2 separate regions of the Homo sapiens genome follow, and region 1 is linked to region 2. Evidence: promoter capture Hi-C in 16 types of primary human blood cells and fetal thymus (Javierre and others, 2016). All regions are on one chromosome and are shown on one strand. The core of a region is centred on a gene start or on the middle of the fragment in contact, and the rest is flanking DNA. Distances in the headings are between cores, read along the strand shown.

Region 1 (3,149 bases), core at 341-2,840, 1.9 Mb before region 2:
AGGCTGGCACAGCCGCTGGGCAGGGGGCTGGCACCCTGGCGATGAGATCTCCATGCAGGCTTCCTTGGGCAGCCTGGAAGAAGTGTCAGCATATATAAGGGGATCTGGGAAGGGACACTAAATGCCAGAGAGCGGAGAAACAGTCAACCAAAGAGTTACCAGCACACTAGTGAGACACTCACCCGCCTTGGCAGGACACAGTCAGCTCAAATGCATCCCCCTCACCGGACGGCACAGCCTGCAGGATCTCGGCACTTTCAATACCCTCTGCAGAGTTGCAAGCTTATCAAATTAGGATTCCTCTACCTGGCCTCCCCAAAAGCCCAGAGACAGAAAAGCCCCAGGGCTGCTCCACCAATCCCATCCCTGTGCTTTCAAATGAGGACTCTGGCATTTGGGTATTCTTCCTATCTAGGTGAGTAATTCCTCCCAAGGTGTGCTTCCACTGACCAGCCCTAGGTAGCACACAGCTGCCTCCATCAGCCACCAAAGTAGGCAAGACTCACGGACAATGTCCAGGGTGACGGAAAAGGAACCATATCGATACAGAACACAATCCAGGGGGACTTGTCTCTTCACCAGCCTTAAGGTGGCTGTACCATCCAGCAGGGGGCCCAGGGAACCTGGCAGGAGAGGATCAAGGAGGCAAGATCAAGAGACAGATGACTCATCTGGAGGCAGAGGCCAAGCAGGCATTTTTTCAGGTTGAACCAGAGTTACTGGATTCTGGAGTCACAGGCTTGGAATCAGATAAGACCTGGGAAACCTTATTCTATAGATAAGGAAACTGAGGCCCAGAAGAAGAAAATGACTCCTCCAGAGTCACAGTTAGGGGTGGCATTGGAGTTTTAAAAAATCCTCAAATGTTTATCACACCCCACACTATGTCAGGTCCTAGGCTAGACATTCAACGTGTGTTAACTCATTTAAGCATCACTGTTTCATTCCTCCCTTTTTGCTTTGGGATGGGAATCCAGGGTTGGGAAATGGAAGGATCAGGATCTCGGAATCTGGGAAGGATTTTCGTGCATTTATGCTTGAACAGAAAATGAGCTATAAATATTATATAAATGATCACAGTCTGTTCCCTGGTCTCGCCAACCGTTCTCAGCAGTAGAGAAAGCAACAAGCTCTTTCCTCATGGCCTAGGGGAAGACCTTGGTTTCCTGAACTCCAGACCTATTCCATGTCATTAAGAGAGACTGGAGGGCTTTATAGCCAGGCCAGTGAGAACTCTGAGGGGACCATAGTGCTAAGCAAAGGATTGGGTAACATCTGAGTCCTGGGTAAGACTTACAGAGTAGAGTAGGGTACCCCACCTCCGTGAACCTCATTCGCACTGATACTCTTACCTGTAATACTTTCCGTAGACATGATTGAGCTGGCATCTGGACCTTCAGGCTCAGGGATAGGTAGCTCTCTAGCTGTGGTCTCCACCCACTCTGTAGTTGTTACCTGTGCAGCTGTGGTTCCAGAAAGCACCACAATTGATACCTCTGCAGGTGTCATACCTGTAGCCTCTGGAGTTGACATCTCTGCCAGTGTGGTACCCATGACCTCTGAAACTGGCACCTTCTCAGGTGTCATACCTGTGCTCTCTGCAGTTGGCATCTGCACAGGTGCAGTGCTTATGACTTCAGTGGTTGGCACCTGCACAGATGTGGTTCCAGAGGGCTCTGCAGTTGGCGCCTGACCAGGTGTAGTACCCACAACTTCTGTAGTAGGCACTTGGCCAGCTGTGGTGTTAGGGGCCTCTGCAGTTGGCCTGTGCCCATCTGTGGTGCCTGGAACTGGGGAGGAGCCACAGGAGGTGAGAGGAATGGCAGCCTGCAGGACCACCTGGGCAGTGACTGGGCCAGGCTCCAGGTAAGTATGAGTGACCACAAGTGCCCGAGAGATCAGGGTTCCACTACTGTCTCCAAAGTCCCAGGTGTAGGAGAGGTCAGCTTCAGCCAGATAGCCACTGGGGTCATGGAGCTGGAGGGCAAAGGTCAGAGGCTGATTTCTCAGGAAGTGCTTGTTCCCTCCATCCAAGGCCCGCAACTGGGACACGCTCACGGAGAAAGGCACCTGGTCTGGGATTGGAGCCAGAAAAGGTGAGAACCAGGCCTGAGCCACAGCTTCTCCTTTCACAGCCACACCCTCCAACTCCAAGCTGACTGGCTGGCCCTTCACTGGCACTAAGCCTCACATTTCTCTGCCTAGGTCTTCCTGGCCCTTCTACTTTAAGTTTGCACAGCATTTCACCTTTCTCCTTTCCAGTCCATCCAAGCCTCCCTGCCTTCTCTTGCCCTACAACTGGCCTTGCCCCTTCCTAAACCCTTACCAGTAATGGTGAAGGCTGAGCTGGAATGAGCAAGAGGCACATAGCTCCGGGATCCCCGGCGATGGTAGACAGTCACTTCCATGGTGTGTGTGCCCAGCATTGCCCTGCCTGTCCCAATGCTCAGCCCAGACACTGGGCCCCCTAGAACTTGCCAGTATTGGCCTGAAGTTTTTGGAATGAAAAGCAAGGAAGAAGAGATTACTGGTCAAAGGGGACTGAGGGACAGGCTTCGAAACGGCACTGGAGATGGGAGGTCAGGAAGTATGATTACTTCTGAGGGTGTTTGGAAGGCTGTGATATGGGGGGACAGGGAAGGGGTCCTAATGAGGCATTCCATGGGGTAGGACTACAATTGAGGAAGAGTTGCCAGAAAGAATTATGATAGAGTTGAAGGGGGCTAGGTGCTAAGAAAGAGAAAAGATCTAAGAGGAAAATGAAGATTAGAGAAAATCACAGAAGTTAAGGTGGAAGGGGCGGCCAAAAGAAAGGTGATCAGGTAGAAAGAAGTAAACACAAGTGTGGATGATAGGCTGAGAAGGGAGTCCCTCACCCCAGGTCTTCCAGACATAAACAAAGCTTCTCTTCTGAGACCAAGAGCCAGATGGGCAAGGTCCACCATCAGGGAAGATGCAGGCATCGTCAGTTTCCTGGGGATACACTGGCTGTCCTCCCCACACCTGGCTCCCTGAAAGATAAATACAGAGTCACTCTCAAACCCTGGCATTCTTTTTTGTATATCAAAACCCCTAAAATTGCTCCCAGGGTATCAGAGAGGGGCTCTGGGAATATTCCCTAGCTAGAAAGTACATTCTCCATGATATAA
Region 2 (3,279 bases), core at 82-2,581:
GCTGCGAGTCTTCCTACTGAGGCGGGGTGTGAGGAGAAGAGGGGATGTGAGGAGTATGCCCCCACTGAGGATCATCAGGGCTGGGGTCCAGGCTCTGCCAGTTACTGACTCAGCCACACAGCCTTTTGGAGCCTTAGTTTCCTCATCCATAAACTGGGATAACAGCAAGCCCTCACTCAGGACTGAAAGGATAAACGAAGTTAGAGAGTAAGGCACTGTGCTAACTCTAAAGCTAAATGCTGCGCTTGTTTTAATTAATTATCCAAGGGGAGATGACCACTAAATGGCAACATCATGGGCCTCATTCCAGGAGGCCAGCAACAGACCAGGAGCCCTCCCACCATCATCACGTGGATGAAGCCCAAGAAGATGAGGGAAAGGTGCCTGAGAGCTCTGATCATGAGCAGGTTTCAGAAAGTCAAAATAGCCCCTATACCTTCTCCCAAGTCCACAACAAAATTTGTTTTCCAGCTCACAAACTCCCTGACTGGGTATTCTGTGAAAAACAAAAGCAAGTAAGACTGTTTCACTTGAGACAAAAATCGCTGTCTCCCCTGGTATTCATCCCCACTACTCTCAAGAAGTACCAGGTAAGGACACTATTTGCCCCTATGCATGGGCCGGGGTAGGTGGCTCAAGCCTGTAATCCCAGCACTTTGGGAAGCTGGGCCGGTTGGATCACTGCAGCTCAGGAGTTCAAGACCAGCCTGAGCAACATGGCAAAATCCTGTTCTACCAAAAAAAAATTAGCCAGGTGCACCTGCAGTCCCAGCTTGGCAGGCTGAAGTGGGAGAATCACCGGAGCCCAGGAGTTTGAGGCTGCGGTAAGCCGTGATTGCACCACTGCACTCCAGCCTGGGTGACAGAGTGAGATTTTGTCTTTAAAAAAAAAAAGTGTACATGTACAAACACGTGAACACGTGCACACATACACACAAACGAAGACCAGAGTGACCAGGGCAACACTGTTTTTAATCTTCTCCTGAAAGTCAGGTCCAGATACCACTTTTGTCAACAACACAGCTTTGTGTCCCAGCAAAGGAACTCCTCACACATCTGCCTGCGATTCAGCAGAAGGTAACCTCTGAGACAATCAGATTTTAACAAGCCCATTCAGGTAGAAAGTTGCTTTCTTTTTTGGTTCATCCCCAGAAGTACTTCCTTCCCCACCACCTCCCATCCCCCACAGCAAAGGACTTAGCCTTAGCCTGGCTATCACTATAAAATGGCCCCTCTGAGGGGCCTCCTTCCTCTCAGCTATTGGAGGAAGGAGAGTATTTGGAGCATTTCCGGCCCTTCTTGGACGGCTGCCTGAACCCTGCAGCCAAGACACATTTGACTGGGACTCCCCCATGGAGAGAAGTCCTCCCAGGTCCTCTGCAAGGGGCATCTGTTCCTTGGCTATGGACATGCCCTAAAGTGCCAGGTGGACGGAAGAGCTCCTGGGACCAGCAGGTGAGTCGGCAGGGAACAAAAGAGGGTGAGATGCCTAGACAGCCCCCACACACAAAAGACTGCAAACAATGGGGAGGGTGTACTGCTTTCATGCCTGGCCACTGACACTGTTCTCTACAGCTAACAAGCAAGGCAGGGCCGGACCCAGCTTAGCACCGGCTCCCGAAGTTCCAAAAAGTAGCTGTGTATCTAACTGCATGGGCATTTTTTGAAAAAAGCAGTTTTAACACTTTGGGGGGCAAAGGCAGTGGGGATCACTTAAGGTCAGAAGTTCGAGACCAGCATGACCAATATGGTGAAACCCCATCTTTACTAAAAATGCAAAAATTAGCAGGGTATGGTAGTGAGCTCCTGTAATCCCAGCTACTCCGGAGGCTGAGGCACGAGAATCACTTGAATCCAAGAGGTGGAGGTTGCAGTGAGCCGAGATCACACCATTGCACTCCAGCCTGGGGGACAGAGCAAAACTCTGTCTCAAAATAAATAAATAAATAAATAAAATTTAAAAAATTAAAAAGCAGTTTTAGCCATGCTGTTTGGCCCATACCAGCATGTTGTATGCTGGTGCCCTCTCTGCACCAGCAACTGGGGCAGCTCTACCTAAGCCAGTGTCTCCATTAGTTCCCTTTCCCTGGGCAGGAGAGCTCCCTATATGGCTGTCTCTTCTTTCAGACCTGAGTCCTTAATGCCACCTGTGGGGCGAGGGTCACAGGTCACACACTTTCTTGTCTCTGCCCCTTCAGCAATCTGTTCTCTGACCTCAGCTAGAGAGGTAAGAGGACTCAGTTTTGGGAGCAGGGGATTTCTGGCAGTTCTAAAGCACGCTGATTTCAGAATCAGCCTCTAAAGGAGGTATTGCCAAAACACCCTCCTGGGCAGCTCCAACGTACTTTAAAAACGTGCTGGGTTGGGGTGGGCCTCCATAAGTAGCAGATCCTGGACCAGAGACAGAGGAGGCGTTTCCTCATAGACAAGTCAGCTGCAGGCTCAGCCCTGCAAGCCCCACTCCAGAGGACTCTTGAGGGATGTCAGGAAGTGATCTAATAGCCCACAGGGCAGCAGGGACAAGCCTGAGATGCCATCCAAGAAAACTCAAAGGACTGGATCCTGCCCCTGCCTCAGCAGGAGACCCTGCCCTATGTAGCACCAGCCAGAGCAAAGGTATCATTGTGAGGGATTGGAAACCACACTTGCCTACCTGGAGTTACCCCTCCTTCCCCCTAAGGAGGTGTATAACAAGCCCCTGTGGGAGGGGCTACACACAGACAACCTCTCAGTGAGTGTTTCAAGTTCCTGCCTTAGTGCTGTGCCCTTGACTCCTGGAATGCTTAGATATAGTTGAAGCCTAGGAAGAATCCACTGCTTCTTTCCCTTCCAGGTATGTAGGCCTGCTTTAGGTTGATACAAACGTGAGCTGGAGAAAGCAGTGAGGACACAGGACAAAGCAAGGGTATCTGTTCTGACCAGGGAAAAATACAGTGGTGACACAAGGCACCCAGACTTGAGTTCGAATCTAGGCTCTGCCATGTGTAAGGTATGCAGCCATGGGCCTCAGTTTCTTCATCTGCAAAATGGGAAGACTACCTATTTCTCAGTGTCAGAATTGCAGGGAGCTCAGGGAGTGTCCTGGTCCTAACAAAAGCTTTGTAAGTGTCAACTGCTACTCATTAAGTGCAAAGTACTTTCATACTCTTACCTCAGTCTCCATCTCAAAATGTTCACATTAAAGGGACCATAGAGATTTCTTCTAACTCATTTCAGAGGTAGTAACAGGGCCAAACCGGAAATGATGTTTTCCGGGACTCCACAAAAACGAATCAGTCG

The links. The method cuts DNA at HindIII sites, captures the fragments that hold promoters and counts their contacts. A CHiCAGO score of 5 or more calls a contact.
Region 1: a contact is called between a fragment that was not itself captured here and the fragment with the promoter of CTDSP2-AS1 in region 2, in 1 of 17 cell types (monocytes). The highest score is 5.7, in monocytes.

The regions. Positions count from the first base shown.
Region 1 is chr12:55,955,597-55,958,745 of GRCh38, forward strand. It overlaps PMEL (premelanosome protein), which reads right to left. Exons shown (of 11, transcript NM_001384361.1): 4 at 2,877-3,011; 5 at 2,327-2,488; 6 at 1,353-2,075; 7 at 507-623; 8 at 183-267; 9 at 1-73. Among named protein-coding and RNA genes, the nearest start is that of PMEL, 8.9 kb to the right of the region's middle. RefSeq lists an enhancer at 1,309-1,810. The HindIII fragment of the contact is 2,620 bases long and covers 281-2,900 here.
Region 2 is chr12:57,835,760-57,839,038 of GRCh38, forward strand. It overlaps CTDSP2-AS1 (CTDSP2 antisense RNA 1), which reads left to right and starts at 1,332. Exons shown (of 2, transcript NR_188077.1): 1 at 1,332-1,455. The region is part of intron 1 of CTDSP2 (CTD small phosphatase 2); the gene reads right to left. RefSeq lists enhancers at 1,562-1,631, 2,221-2,841, 2,422-2,531, 2,592-2,671. The HindIII fragment of the contact is 9,495 bases long and covers 1-3,095 here.